Linked DNA regions of Homo sapiens: region 1 is linked to region 2. Evidence: promoter capture Hi-C in human tissues and cell types (Jung and others, 2019). All regions are on one chromosome and are shown on one strand. Each heading gives the region's core, a stretch centred on a gene start or on the middle of the fragment in contact. The rest is flanking DNA. Distances are from core to core; before and after follow the strand shown. Region 1 overlaps TNFRSF19 (TNF receptor superfamily member 19). Region 2 holds the start of TNFRSF19 (TNF receptor superfamily member 19).

Region 1 (5,997 bases), core at 2,703-5,202, 68 kb after region 2:
TTTTGTATAGGGAGCATTCACCCTCTTGAGGTGGCATGTGAGGGCCTGCACCGTGTGGGAAAACAGCTCTTGGGTTCACGGTCTAAGGAAGACCAGGGGATGTGGCCTTAACCAATGGATTGGGATCGTTTTGTCTTTAAACTTGGGTGTCTAGCCACTTCCTAGGGGGTTTACTTGAGTACCGTCGTTTTTGAGAAGGGAAAAAAGAAGTTCCAGAATAGTGTGAAATAGCAAGTATTTCTTGCATTCCGAAAGGTACCAGGCATTTCATCTGCATTTCTCAGCCTGCCCTTCACATAATGGTCCATGGTGTGTGTTTCCTTAAAGCCCTCATTCCACAGGACATGGTCACGTGGAGGGTAGGTGAGTCCTACCCCAGGCCTTCCTGGCAGCACAGACAGGCCAAGCTCAATACTGCCTCTCCAGGTGAACTCCGAGGGACAGGATTAAGAGAGTTTTAAAATAATTTATAAATTAAGAAAAATTCTGAACCTATAAATAAAATGTAATTGAGTCATCCTACTTGAAAAAATGGGTAAAGAATCTCAAAGGTTGAAAAGGGCATTAGAAAGTTAAAAATGGAAGCTTGAAGTCAAATTTCAAACAGGAATTAATTAATTTAGAAGATAATATCCCACTTTGGGTTTTTAAAACATTATTTTTTGAGACAGAGTCTCACTCTGTCATCCAGGCTGGAGTGCAGTGGTGTGATCTCGGCTCACTACAACCTCTGCCTCCCAGGTTCAAGCGATTCTTCTGCCTCAGCCTCCCAGGTAGCTGGGATTACAGGTGTGTGCCACCATGCCCGGCTAATTTGTGTATTTTTAGTAGAGACGGGGTTTCACTATGTTGGCCACGCTGGTCTTGAAATCCTGACCTCAAGTGATCTGCCCGCCTTGGCCTCCCAAAGTGCTGGGATTACAGGTGTGAGCCACAGAGCCTGGTCTAAAACATTATTTTAATTGCTTCATTTATTATTTCGATTATCTCAGAGAAAATATTTTAAGTATTCATGAGAGTTTTATCTATTGTAAGTCATGCAGCAGTTTTCTTAATTAAATATTTAAGAAACATTTTTCTTGATAATTATAATTTTAAAAGGATGTTTTAACTTTCAAAATAATTTTTGAACTTTACTGAAATATAATGTATATACAAGAAGATGCATCATTTTAAATGTAAAATTCAGTGAGTTTTGATGGATGTATAACTTATGTAATCATTTCCCCCATCATGATACAGAACATTTCTGTCACCCTCCCATAAGGAAAGTGACTATTTTTAAGCATTGGTCTTCTTGGAGTGGCCTCAGAGGGGTCCGTTAGTGAGACGTCTAGGGGATATGGTTTAGGCATCTTTTTGCTCTATTGCTGTTGTAAAATGTGTGCATGTGTGTGTTAATGTTTCCTGTCCTTGCTTCATTCTCTGTCAAGAGACCAACGGGTTATGTTATGAAATTTTCTCTTTAAATGATTTTCTGAAAAATCTTCACTATTGAACTTTCTAAAATGCCATTGAAAATAATTCCTGAAAATATTGCCAGGGGTCGTAGGAGGCATGGTTTTCTTCAAAATGAGAAAAATTGCTTTTTAAAATTCTTGGTATTGGAATGTTTAACACAGGAAACATGTCAGGGAGTCTGTTTTGGGTGCAGAATGCTAGTCTAGATATTAATGAAGTGCTGCAGAAACACATCTCTCCCAGGTTGTGAATGATCTCCTCGTCTTCTCCTTTAGGGACAGCTATCTTGAATGCTAAGATATCCGTATCACTGATGAGGACACTGGGGCTGCCCTGGTGAAAACCACAGGCCAACTTCCCAGTTCTCAGGGAGTTAAGATTCCGATGCTGCAGGGCAGAGCTATTATTTACAATAAGGTGCTGAGGGAAGGTTTATTAAGGTGACCCTAGGACAGGGCCCTGAAAGAGGGGAGGAGGCAGAGACACCCACAGCAGAGGCCACAGCTGGTGACTGAGTCGATAGGTGCATCACGTAGGGCTCCTGGGCCGTTATGAAGATACATTTAACTTCCCTCGGACTCCTGTTGGAAGTAGAGTTGAGGGGAGCAAGGGAGGAAGCAGGAGCTCACTCTCCTAGTTTCAGCAGAGCATTTTTAGCTGGCACAGTAGATGTATGTGCTTTGAGAAATAGTGTGGCTTTTCACCCCTTTCTCAAGAGTTGGTTATTAGTTTATTTAATTCAATTTATTTAATTTAAATAAATCATGTATTTACTAGTTATGTGTTAATAATATTATAATATTTGCTATGTTTTGTTTGCCTCTTCAGATAGTCAAGGAAAATTAGAGTTGTTGTTTTTTTTCCTAAACCCAAGTGAAACACGTATTTGAAAGAGGTTAACTTAAGCTTTTATATTCTGCCGTAAGCTTTTACATTATCATGAGTGTTTTCTATGATTTTAGGCCCGGGGGACACAGATGAAGGCCTGAAAAATAAAATCAGGGGAAGCTCTCTCTGATTACTAATTTTCTCATAACTATCTCAGTTGATATCCCAAGACTAATGCAAACCCATCTACTTGATGTTTTTCATGGAAGCTCATGTAGGCTTCGCTGTGAAGAAGGCTTGATTTTGAGTCCTAACACTTAATTTTCAGACAAATTATTTAACTTTTCTTCATCCCTGTTTCTTAAAATGAAGATGCTAGTGATTGTAAAAGAGGCAGTAATGCCGGGGCTGAGTCCTGAATCGACTTCCTGTTCCAAGTCTCAAGAAAAACATTCTCTTTCTAACCTAACCTGGAGTTTTGTGCTTTGCCGTAAGTCCTGTCAAATGTAAAATTATAAGTGAATTAATACCGGTATCAATTCTGCTGGCATAGAGGATAGCAGGAAGCACTGTCTAAATCCAGATTTTCTTTTCAGTCTAGACTCAAACAACCATACCAAACTGTGCACAGATATACATTTTTTTCTTAGTTGGAAGTTAATGGGTGGAAATAATTTGAGTGTCATCATCTGAGAATAATTTCACAGATTACTTCTTCAAATAGTGCAGTGAGGTAAATAAGAGTTATCCACTGATGACAGGGAAGGCAGCCTCACAGGATCAGGGTCCGCAGGCTAACACCTGCCTGTCTCCACGTGGCCTTCTCCAAATGCAAGGGAAAATGGACACTCCCTGCTTTCTTTCACAGGGGCTGGAGGCCGGAGCCCAAAATGGAGCCTGGCACTCAAAGGGTTAAGGAGAGTCCGTGGTGGAACTGGGAGGGCGGAGGCCCAAGTTTCTGGTCTCTGTTGGATTCCCAGATGGCAGCGCCAGTTGAAGCACACTATTTTTGAGCTTGCTCTCCCTCAGCACAGATGTTCAAGGCCATAATAATGTGTTTCTTTTATGGTGTCTTTTCTGTTTCTCGGTGCAGAAGTTTAAAAGCTTCATTGTTTCATCAGTCAGATAAACACAGCAAGACGTTATGGGTCCGTAGACTATTAAAAAGAAAAACATCCTTGCGGGTAGGGAAGGTTCCTTTACTCTCTCATGTTTGTGAGAAACACTGTAGGTAATCTGCTGCCATTGTGCAGCTTTTAATTGTTTTCAATGTTAATGATGGTATTTATGGTAATTAACATACAAAACAGCTGTACTTACAATCCGGCAAGTGCCAAAGAGGATCCTGAAGCAGTGAGTTGCTCCGGCATAATGGGGTGCCTTCAGTCAGCCCTGCAGTTAGGGCCAGGCGCTGAGGCCTGGGGTGCACCTGCCTGCCTTGCCAGCCCCTCCCCATGGTCATTGCTTTTTCGGTCTTCTTTTCTTTTACTCAAAGACAGGCGTGATCATATTTGGCCTAGTCCATCCTGGTGGGCAGCAGGTCTCTAGACCAAGTGATCTGGAAGCAAGATGGAAAGAGCAGAAATCAAGTTTGGTTGAGGAACTGACCAGATCTCAGCTGCGGTGGCCGTCAGCCCCTGTAGCAGCTTCCTCCCTGACTTCCTCCCTTCTGCTGATGTTCCTGGGTCCCTGGTTTGCTTCAGGATCCCTCTTACTGCCTTAGTTTCTCTCCCTCACCCCGTGCCTCTGAACCATCCTCTTGACTCCTTTGCTCCCTCAGCCTCCCATCACGCTGCGGGTTCCTGTCCCTGGGCTGCCGGGTGCCCTTCAGTCCTGTTTTCCTTGAGTTTCATTGCTGCATCATGCCAACATTTCTGCTGGTCTGTTGTGTAATTAATACACATGCACATCATAGAGTGGAAAACTCTTCATGTCTTTATCTTGTCCATCAGTAATTTATTTTTGTCCTATTGAGAAGAAATAAGAGCTGTTTAGTTCAACTCAACAATTAATTTTTATTTTCTTGATAGAAACATTCACATTTTATACTAATAAATAAAAACCAAAGTCAAACTTAAGGAAATTTTAAGGCCAGGTGTGGTGGCTTACATCTGTAATTCCAGCACTTTGGGAGGCTGAGAAGGGTGGATCACTTGAGGTCAGGAGTTCGAGACCAGCCTTGCCAACATGATGAAACCCTATCTCTACTAAAAATACAAAAATTAGCTAGACATAGTGGTGTGGGCCTGTAATCCCAGCTACTCAGGAGGTTAAGACAGGAGAATCATTTGAACCCGGGAGGCAGAGGTTGCAGTGAGCCAAGATCATGCCACTGCACTCCAGCCTGGGCAACAGAGCAAGGCTCCATCTCAAAAGATAATTTAAAAAAAATTTAAATTCATATAGCCCCCGTAGCAGGTGTCCTTGGGGACACCAATTCATGACATAGCTCCTTTCCTTTGCCTCCCCTCAGGAGCCCTGCTGTGCACAGTTATAGCCACATGCCAGGGGGATTTGTCCTCCCCTTTCCCTGGAGTCTCCCACCAGTGTTAGGAGCAGACTATGAAAGATTACAGCTCTTGGAGTTCATGCTTGGTGCTTCTTCCCTAGGTAGCTCCCCAGCCAGTACCACCTGGCACAAACCAGTCAGGCCCCCTGGAAGATTTGGCCAGCAGGGCAGTGGTCTGCGTGCCCTGACCCGGCCCTGGAGGGAGCGGGCGACAGTGAGAACTGAGGCAGTGGTGGGAGGGAGGGAGAGGAGGAGAGAGCCCAGAGGATTTGGAAAGACCATTTCCAAGCGCTGCACATGGCTGGATTTGAAAGGATATGCTAAAATTGTTCTTTATTTTTCTAGCAATTGAAATACAAAGGACTTATTGTTGCAGTCAGAATGAATGATGATACTGTGGGGTTTTGGCTTAGGAACAAAACAAAACTCTGCTGACATGAGCGCAATACTCTGTACTCAGGTTAGTAAGGACCATCAACTCACTTTATAGTTTTAGACAGCATTGACACCTGACTAAGACACTGTAGTGCTGTCAAGCCAGGCAGCGGAGACGTTCTGGGTGGTGCTGACCTGCAAGAGAAAGGGGTTTGGCTACCTGAGAGGCTCTGTTATAAAACATGCTGTGGGAGGCTGTTTGTGTAGTTGGAGGAGGTTCGCAATGGAAAATAATGGTCTTGATTCGACAGGGAACCAGTCCCGTATCTCCACACACCAAGTAGAGACTTGGTGACTTCTAGCTTACTTTTAAAAATCAATTTTAGTAACCAAACAGGATGCTAATACAGGTCAGAAAATGTAGCTAGCTGTGTTGATGAGAATCATTAGAAACTGCCAGATTTCTGTGTAACTTCATGCTGCCAGCTTATCGCCAAGTAAGTGCTACTACAGCCTTCCTCGATGACTAACCTGTACCCAGCTTTGAGTGAGAGTGTGGTTCTCTCTAGTTAAAACTAAAACAGTCAGAGAGGGGAGGCACCAGATGAGCTGCTCTTTCTGGTTATAAATGCTAGGCTGGGCCAGGTGGCCTCCCGTCTTCTTTCTCCTAACCACCTTTCTCCTGCACACCTTCTCCTCTCAAGTAGGCCTTTGTCTTTCCATGTTGGCAAACTGTATGCCAAGATGTTCATCTGAGAATGTTCACCAATCCATTCTTTGAATGAATTAAATCAAATTGGCTTGTCTACAAAGAGAATTCTCAT
Region 2 (6,408 bases), core at 1,033-3,532:
TGATGTCGAGTGGAGTGCTGGATCTCTTATCACCACTGTATCACACTGATTTAATCACACTAATCTAAGCTTCTTGAAGGGGAAAGAGAAAAGCTTTGTAGTAGCTCCCCTTCCTGGTGCTGTTCAGAAACAACAATGGTGCAGGCCACACCTCACAACGAAGGGGGCTCGGCTGGCTGGGCACAGTGCTAAATGAGCCGCAGGTCAAGAGGTCACTCCTGCAGCCAGGCCGACCTTTAGCCACACTCTGGTCCAGGCGACAGATGGGGCCCTAGCCTCAGTCCCCTTTCATCTCACATATGGGGAGTTCTTGGCCACAAGAGGACCAATTCAAAATAATATCCAGTGACTTGGTGAATAAACTCTTCCACTGGAGATGGTATTGCATTGTTGGATGTATCTTGAACTACAAAGCTTGCTTGGGGAGATTTGTATAAATTGAAGATCATTTGATTGGTTTTCATTCAAGTCCCTGCTTTCAAGTGCCTCCTGTATGTTTTTCAGTGGAACACAAGAACCCGAATTCAGTCCTTCACCTATTTCTACTGGTGTTGAAATCTATAAAGACATAAAATCTACTTGCTTAGCCAATGAGCCTTACAGAGTGTCTAGTTGCTCTGATTTAATATATCAGTGTATCGGGAAACTTTAATCCTGAGTGCAGGCTGTTGGCATATGGATTCCATGCTGGTGGTAGGTTTGGACTACCTCAGAAAAGAAATGGGCACATGCCTTCTTGTAAATATTTTGTCTTTGTAAATATTTTCTTTGTATTCATGGGTTCAAGATGCCCAGGAAACGTATGTGAAGCCCAGATGTCACAGGAATTTTCCTGGTCTGCTTTAAGGAAGTCCTTAAGCATCACACCTGCCAGTTCAAATACTATTTGAGCCCTGTGCATTTTTGAGAAATGATGTATAAGTAGAAAAATTATACAAGAAACATGGAAAAATCAACAGGACTATTTAAATGTTATACAGAACTTATGAACAGTTCAAACTAAATATTTTGCTATTAAAATTATTCAAGAATCATAGAAATCTGGAAATAAACACTTCATAAATAACGTTTTCAAATATCGCGTCAGGAAAAATTAGACAAAACCAGTTAAGGAGGGAAGTTACATTGAAAAAGACTGAGTTCTACTATCCCCTAAGTTTTGCAAAAATATTTTTAACTTACTTTCTAAAAGTTAGTGAGTTTCCATTATAAAATAGAAAAATTGTCTTCATTCCATGAAAGAACTGTCTGAAAATCAGAAAAGCACCATATCCTGGATTTCAAGGAAGATGAAACTTCTTCTTATCTTCTATTTTACTAAATACTCAAAATAAAATAATCATATTGTATTGAATCTGACATTGTTAAGGAAAATAGCTTAAAATTTTTAAATAATGAGCAATATATTTAATTTTAAAATACGAAGAATTAGGCTAAGGTGGTAATTTTTTAGTGAGTTGAAAGTCCAAACTATGAGTTCGGAAGAAACAGCCCTAAAAGGCAAATAACATGGCTTTGGAATAATCACAGGGCAAATGCTTTGTTCTACATAATTCTTCTTTTGTGAATTTTAAAATGCTCAACAAGTATTAATGAAATATGTCTAAGAAGTAGATATTGCTTTAAAATCTAATTTCCAGAGTCCCGAACTAAGGCAAAGATTGAGATTAAGTCTCCGCCCAAAGTCTTAAGTGAGCCAGTGGAAGATGGCAGTTTATTCATGAATTGTTGGTTATCTGCTGCTTAACTACTTAACACAACCCGGTTTGATTGGTAATCAGATCCTAATAATGTATGTTTCAAAGAAAGGGCAGTTTCCTTAAAATCCTTAAAGACTTGTCACTTTGAAAACTGGAATCAAAATGTGAAAATGTTATCGGTCCATCTGGCAGTGTCCTTGGGTGTTTTTTAGAGTGGTCTCATAGTGCTATTTAACTATGCTGAATATTTGACACCCAGTCTCTGTAGGAAATTGTGATTTTTATCAGCGAAGAGGCAATTAAATGCTGTCATTTGGCACGTCCATCCATCAGGGATCTTATCACCCAAGAAGCATCCAGCAGCAGTTGCTGTCCTTTCCAGCTGGCAGACAGATAACAGAAACTGTCCTGTGTGAGGCACAATAGTCTAACATGATTAGAAATCAGCCAAACTCTGGCTTCTCTTGAGCTATACTCCCCCACAGGCTGAATTATAGCTCTCCTACCAGTCCCACGGCGCTGAATGATGTCATGGGATCTGCAGTTCAGCGAGATGAAAGGGATAAAGCAGAACCCGCTGGCACTAGGAAAAGCTTCCAACACACAGTCCACAACACAGCTTGGGAACCAAAAAAGCTACAGATCCAGCCACTCAGCCCAAGCATGGGAGAACTACCAGCATTGCCTCATTGCAAAAAAGAGGAGGAAAACAACGTGATCCATGTTTAACAAAAGAGTCTGTGGACTAGGAGGTGGGAGGGTAACTACCTGCTGAAAGTGAACTTTCTTTGATATCCATGCATATATATAAACTCAGCCCTGCCTTTGATGTTCAGCAACTGATTCACTGATCAGATTACAGGCATTTCATCTCCCTGCTCGTCTGCCTTTGATCTGCATGGTTAATTTTATTTTCCTGGATTTGAAGTTTCGTCTGGGCTTGTGCTGACATACATTTTTGGGAAGGTAGAAGCATTTGGCACAGAAGTGCTGCCAGGAGAAACTAAGTTGCTGAACGGGTAAGTACTGCAAAGAGCTCAGCATGTTGCAGGTACTCTGTTTTAAGCTTTGTTATAGCTTTCACTGCATTTTTCGCATGTGTTCTGAGAAAAGAATGGTTTTAATTAATTTTTTAGAAAGCATTTATACAGCTGAATACTACATGATGCTGAATGTGTGTATCAGAGTAACTATGGAACTTGATGTAATTTTTAGTAGTTTGTACAAGAGGGTTTGCAGTCTGTCATACAAATTTTACTTGGAAATGAGTTGTACAAACAGGACAAAACAGAACAGCGCTCACTTTAGCATGCAACTGGTACTTCAACCCCTGAGATCTGTGAGCTATAATTGCTCTAAGTATTTACAGGTTACCTTATTTAGTAAACAGTCAGTGCAACTTTGCTTGTTGAAAATGCTTTCTTTGTTTTCTTATATAAAAGAGTAAAATGTATCTCTGGCAATACTGTTTCTTTAGTTTATTTATTCTCTCACTTCCAAGATGTAAATCTATCAAATACACTTCCTTATGCAGTTTGTACACTCAAGGGAATCACTGAAAAACCATCAAGTATGATTAAAGACTTTTATGTGTAAAACTGAAGAATTTAAAAACAGTGAGGATAAAGTTGCACTAAGTTTGGCTAAAAATACTCCAGTGATTTTCTATAACCTTTGGAAATAGCATAAGCCTTATTTACAGAAACATTCACAAGGTTAATATTCCTAAATTAACATTTACTTTACATTTATAGTGACAGCTGTTTTAAGTCAAAATTTGCCAACTGTTTATGAAAACTATCTGAGTAATCAACAGTTATTATGTTACATAAAGTATCTTAGTCACATTTTCACTTTAGCTAATGCCCAACATGACAAAACCAAATTATATTGCTGTACCGAATTTGAAAGTTAACTGTTATTTTTTTGTCAGTTCATGATACACACACACTCACGCTCACACACACACACAGTAAAATCTTTACAGTGAAATATAAAAACTAAATACAATGGAAAAGTAACACTGTTACTTTGTTCGCGATGTTTTTTTTTTTAATGTTCTAGTCCTAAATTTATCTGGGCAAAATATTTAATTATTATCACAAGTCTATTTGATGCTAGCTGAACCATAAAGAAACCATAAGTGATAAGACCAGTTATCCTTTAGTCTGAAATTCTGATGAAACAGGAAAGGTCTAATGAGTCTCATTTCATAAGTAATTAATTTTTCACAGCCAATTAATTAAATTACTTTCTACACTTTCCTCTTGATACTAGAAGGGTAATTAGCATTGTTTATTTAATTTTAAAACTTTGCTAGTTGTTAAGTGGAGGTTATTTAAAGCCATGCTAAACTGATTATATTTTTAAAGTGTGTCATTAATAACTTAATCTTAAAGATTTAACTGCTGTTTTTAGTCATGCCAGGAGAGGCATTTGCTTTTTTTTTCTAAGAGTACAACAAATCATGTTCACAATATCCTGCAATATCGGTTTAGTTTGATTTTTTTTTAATTTGTTTGCTTAAAATCTTCCTTTTAATCACAAAAGTGGTATTAATGTTCACATTCAGATAAAGAAAATTAGCCTTTTAAAACAATGACTGGAGATGGTGCCTAAAGAAATAGTGTGTCTGAAACTTGCTCATTTAGTTCAGATTTGGATTTTAAAATTTTTAAAATGACTGTTTATCCTGCTACTAGGATCATTTTAACAAATACAGGCTCTCCTCAGCACAAAACAAAGGGGAGAATTAGCAATTATCTGATTAATTTAGGCTTTGTAGAAAACTAGCTTGGGCAAGTCAAGTCCTTGAAAATCCACTTCAGTGTTTGAATTAATTCAGTTAATTGTTTACTTCTAGTGTCATTGTTGAGAAATGAAATAGAGTGTATTTGATTTTAAAATAAAGATGGTTGTATCTGAAGGTACAGGTACAGTCTCAAAAGGCATTTCCTAATTAATTGCCACAAAATGACTTTGGCAGATATAGTCCTATTACTTCTACTGAACAAAACCCTTATGTGACATTTTTCAAAGCACTTTCCTATCTGTTGCTTCAATGGCAGCTTTGTTACTACAGAAAGTCCAAGTCTTCAAAAGACTTTTATGTTGAGTCCTGATACTGTCACCAATTAGCTATATGACCTCAAGAGAGTTTCCTCATGTGTGAAGTGAGGGAGTTGATCACATCATCTTTATGAAATAAGCAGAATTGGAATTTTTATGGCCATTTTACAGATGAGGAAACTGAGGCTATAGAAAACGAATGTCCCTATCTTAACAAGGTCACATGGCTGATTTTCCCAGTTCTAGTCCAATGTTCTTTCCAGTCTACCATGCAGGGTCTGCTTTCCAACAACTGCTTAAACAAATGCACTCTGTAGCTCATCAAAGAACAATATTAGTTTGAAAAATAAAGACAGCCACTTCCTATTGTAGTGCATTTTTTTTTTGTTTCCATGATAGATATGTCAGTCAGCTGGATTCGTCTGATTATTTTCCAACTGTTCCTTCTACTTCTGGACTTCTAAGCTGTCTAAACACAGTAGCTGCTACCCATAATTTAACATAATTTAACACGTAAAATAATTTTCACAAAAAGTTTAATGCATCAATGTGATGTGGAATTATATATGTATTTGTGTGTTTGCCTCTGTGTGTGTGTGTACATACGAGTTTGGCATTATATCAACACATATTTGTGTGTTTTGAAGGAATTGATATTTTCTTAGATGATGCCAGTGGCATCCAAAAACAGTTTAATAATTAAAGGTTAATTTTCCTCCAGGGAAATTCCCAGTGGGATTCTGTGAAACTTCAGTTGACAAACTCAATGTGCATTTCAAACATGATATGATATGTGTTTCATATCATGTTTGATTATGTTAAGACTCTTGAGCATGTTTTCATTATCTCTTTGCTTTTCTTCCTTGAAAAAATATATCTTGGGGCCAGGAGCGGTGGCTCACGCCTGTAATCCCAGCACTTTGGGAGGCCGAGGCAGACGGATCACGAGGTCAGGAGATCGAGACCATCCTGGCTAACATGGTGAAACCCCATCTCTACTAAAAATACAAAAAATTAGCCGGACAAGGTGGCAGGCGCCTGTAGTCCCAGCTACTTGGGAGGCTGAGGCAGAAAAATGGTGTGAACCCGGGAGGCAGAGCTTTCAGTGAGCCGAGATGGCGCCACTGCACTCCAGCCTGGGTGACAGAGTGAGACTCTGTCTCAAAAAAAAAAAAAAAAAAAATCTATCTATCTATATCTTGTGTGAAAAATTTTAATTTAGTTACTAATAAAATTTTATACAAATACAGGACTCTCATGGCCAAACAACTGCCCTCATAATAGGGCTTATCACCCTCTTTAGGATTCCTACATATACAAGATTATTACTAACATGACCTAATATTTATTAATTCACTCATTATCAATTAATTCAATATCAAGTACTTGTGCAAGGATAAATAACATGTGCAAGATTATAGGAATAATTCAGTGGCAGCATTGTGATCTACATTTTTTTTGTTCTGGGGCTAGGTGATTCATTCTTTTTAAGAATTACACAAAGCTGAACTTGACTGTCAGCAAACATTATAGCCAAAATTTTGGCCAAAAATATGGGCTCCAGTTTTTTTTTTTCCTTTTATATATTTTGTAAGAACTATTAGACATTTTTAATAGTATTTTCTGTCAGGATGGCCAT

What was found. The method cuts DNA at HindIII sites, captures the fragments that hold promoters and counts their contacts. A contact is called where the count stands out against the background at its distance.
Region 1: a contact is called between a fragment that was not itself captured here and the fragment with the promoter of TNFRSF19 in region 2, in 2 of the 25 tissues and cell types used here (H1 embryonic stem cells and hippocampus).

The regions. Positions count from the first base shown.
Region 1 is chr13:23,634,733-23,640,729 of GRCh38, forward strand. All of the region lies in intron 5 of TNFRSF19 (TNF receptor superfamily member 19), which reads left to right. Among named protein-coding and RNA genes, the nearest start is that of TNFRSF19, 67 kb to the left of the region's middle. RefSeq lists an enhancer at 4,450-4,951. The HindIII fragment of the contact is 4,953 bases long and covers 1,477-5,997 here.
Region 2 is chr13:23,568,130-23,574,537 of GRCh38, forward strand. TNFRSF19 (TNF receptor superfamily member 19) reads left to right here and starts at 2,283. Exons shown (of 10, transcript NM_148957.4): 1 at 2,283-2,719. RefSeq lists enhancers at 1-206, 207-718, 6,082-6,251. The HindIII fragment of the contact is 2,276 bases long and covers 254-2,529 here.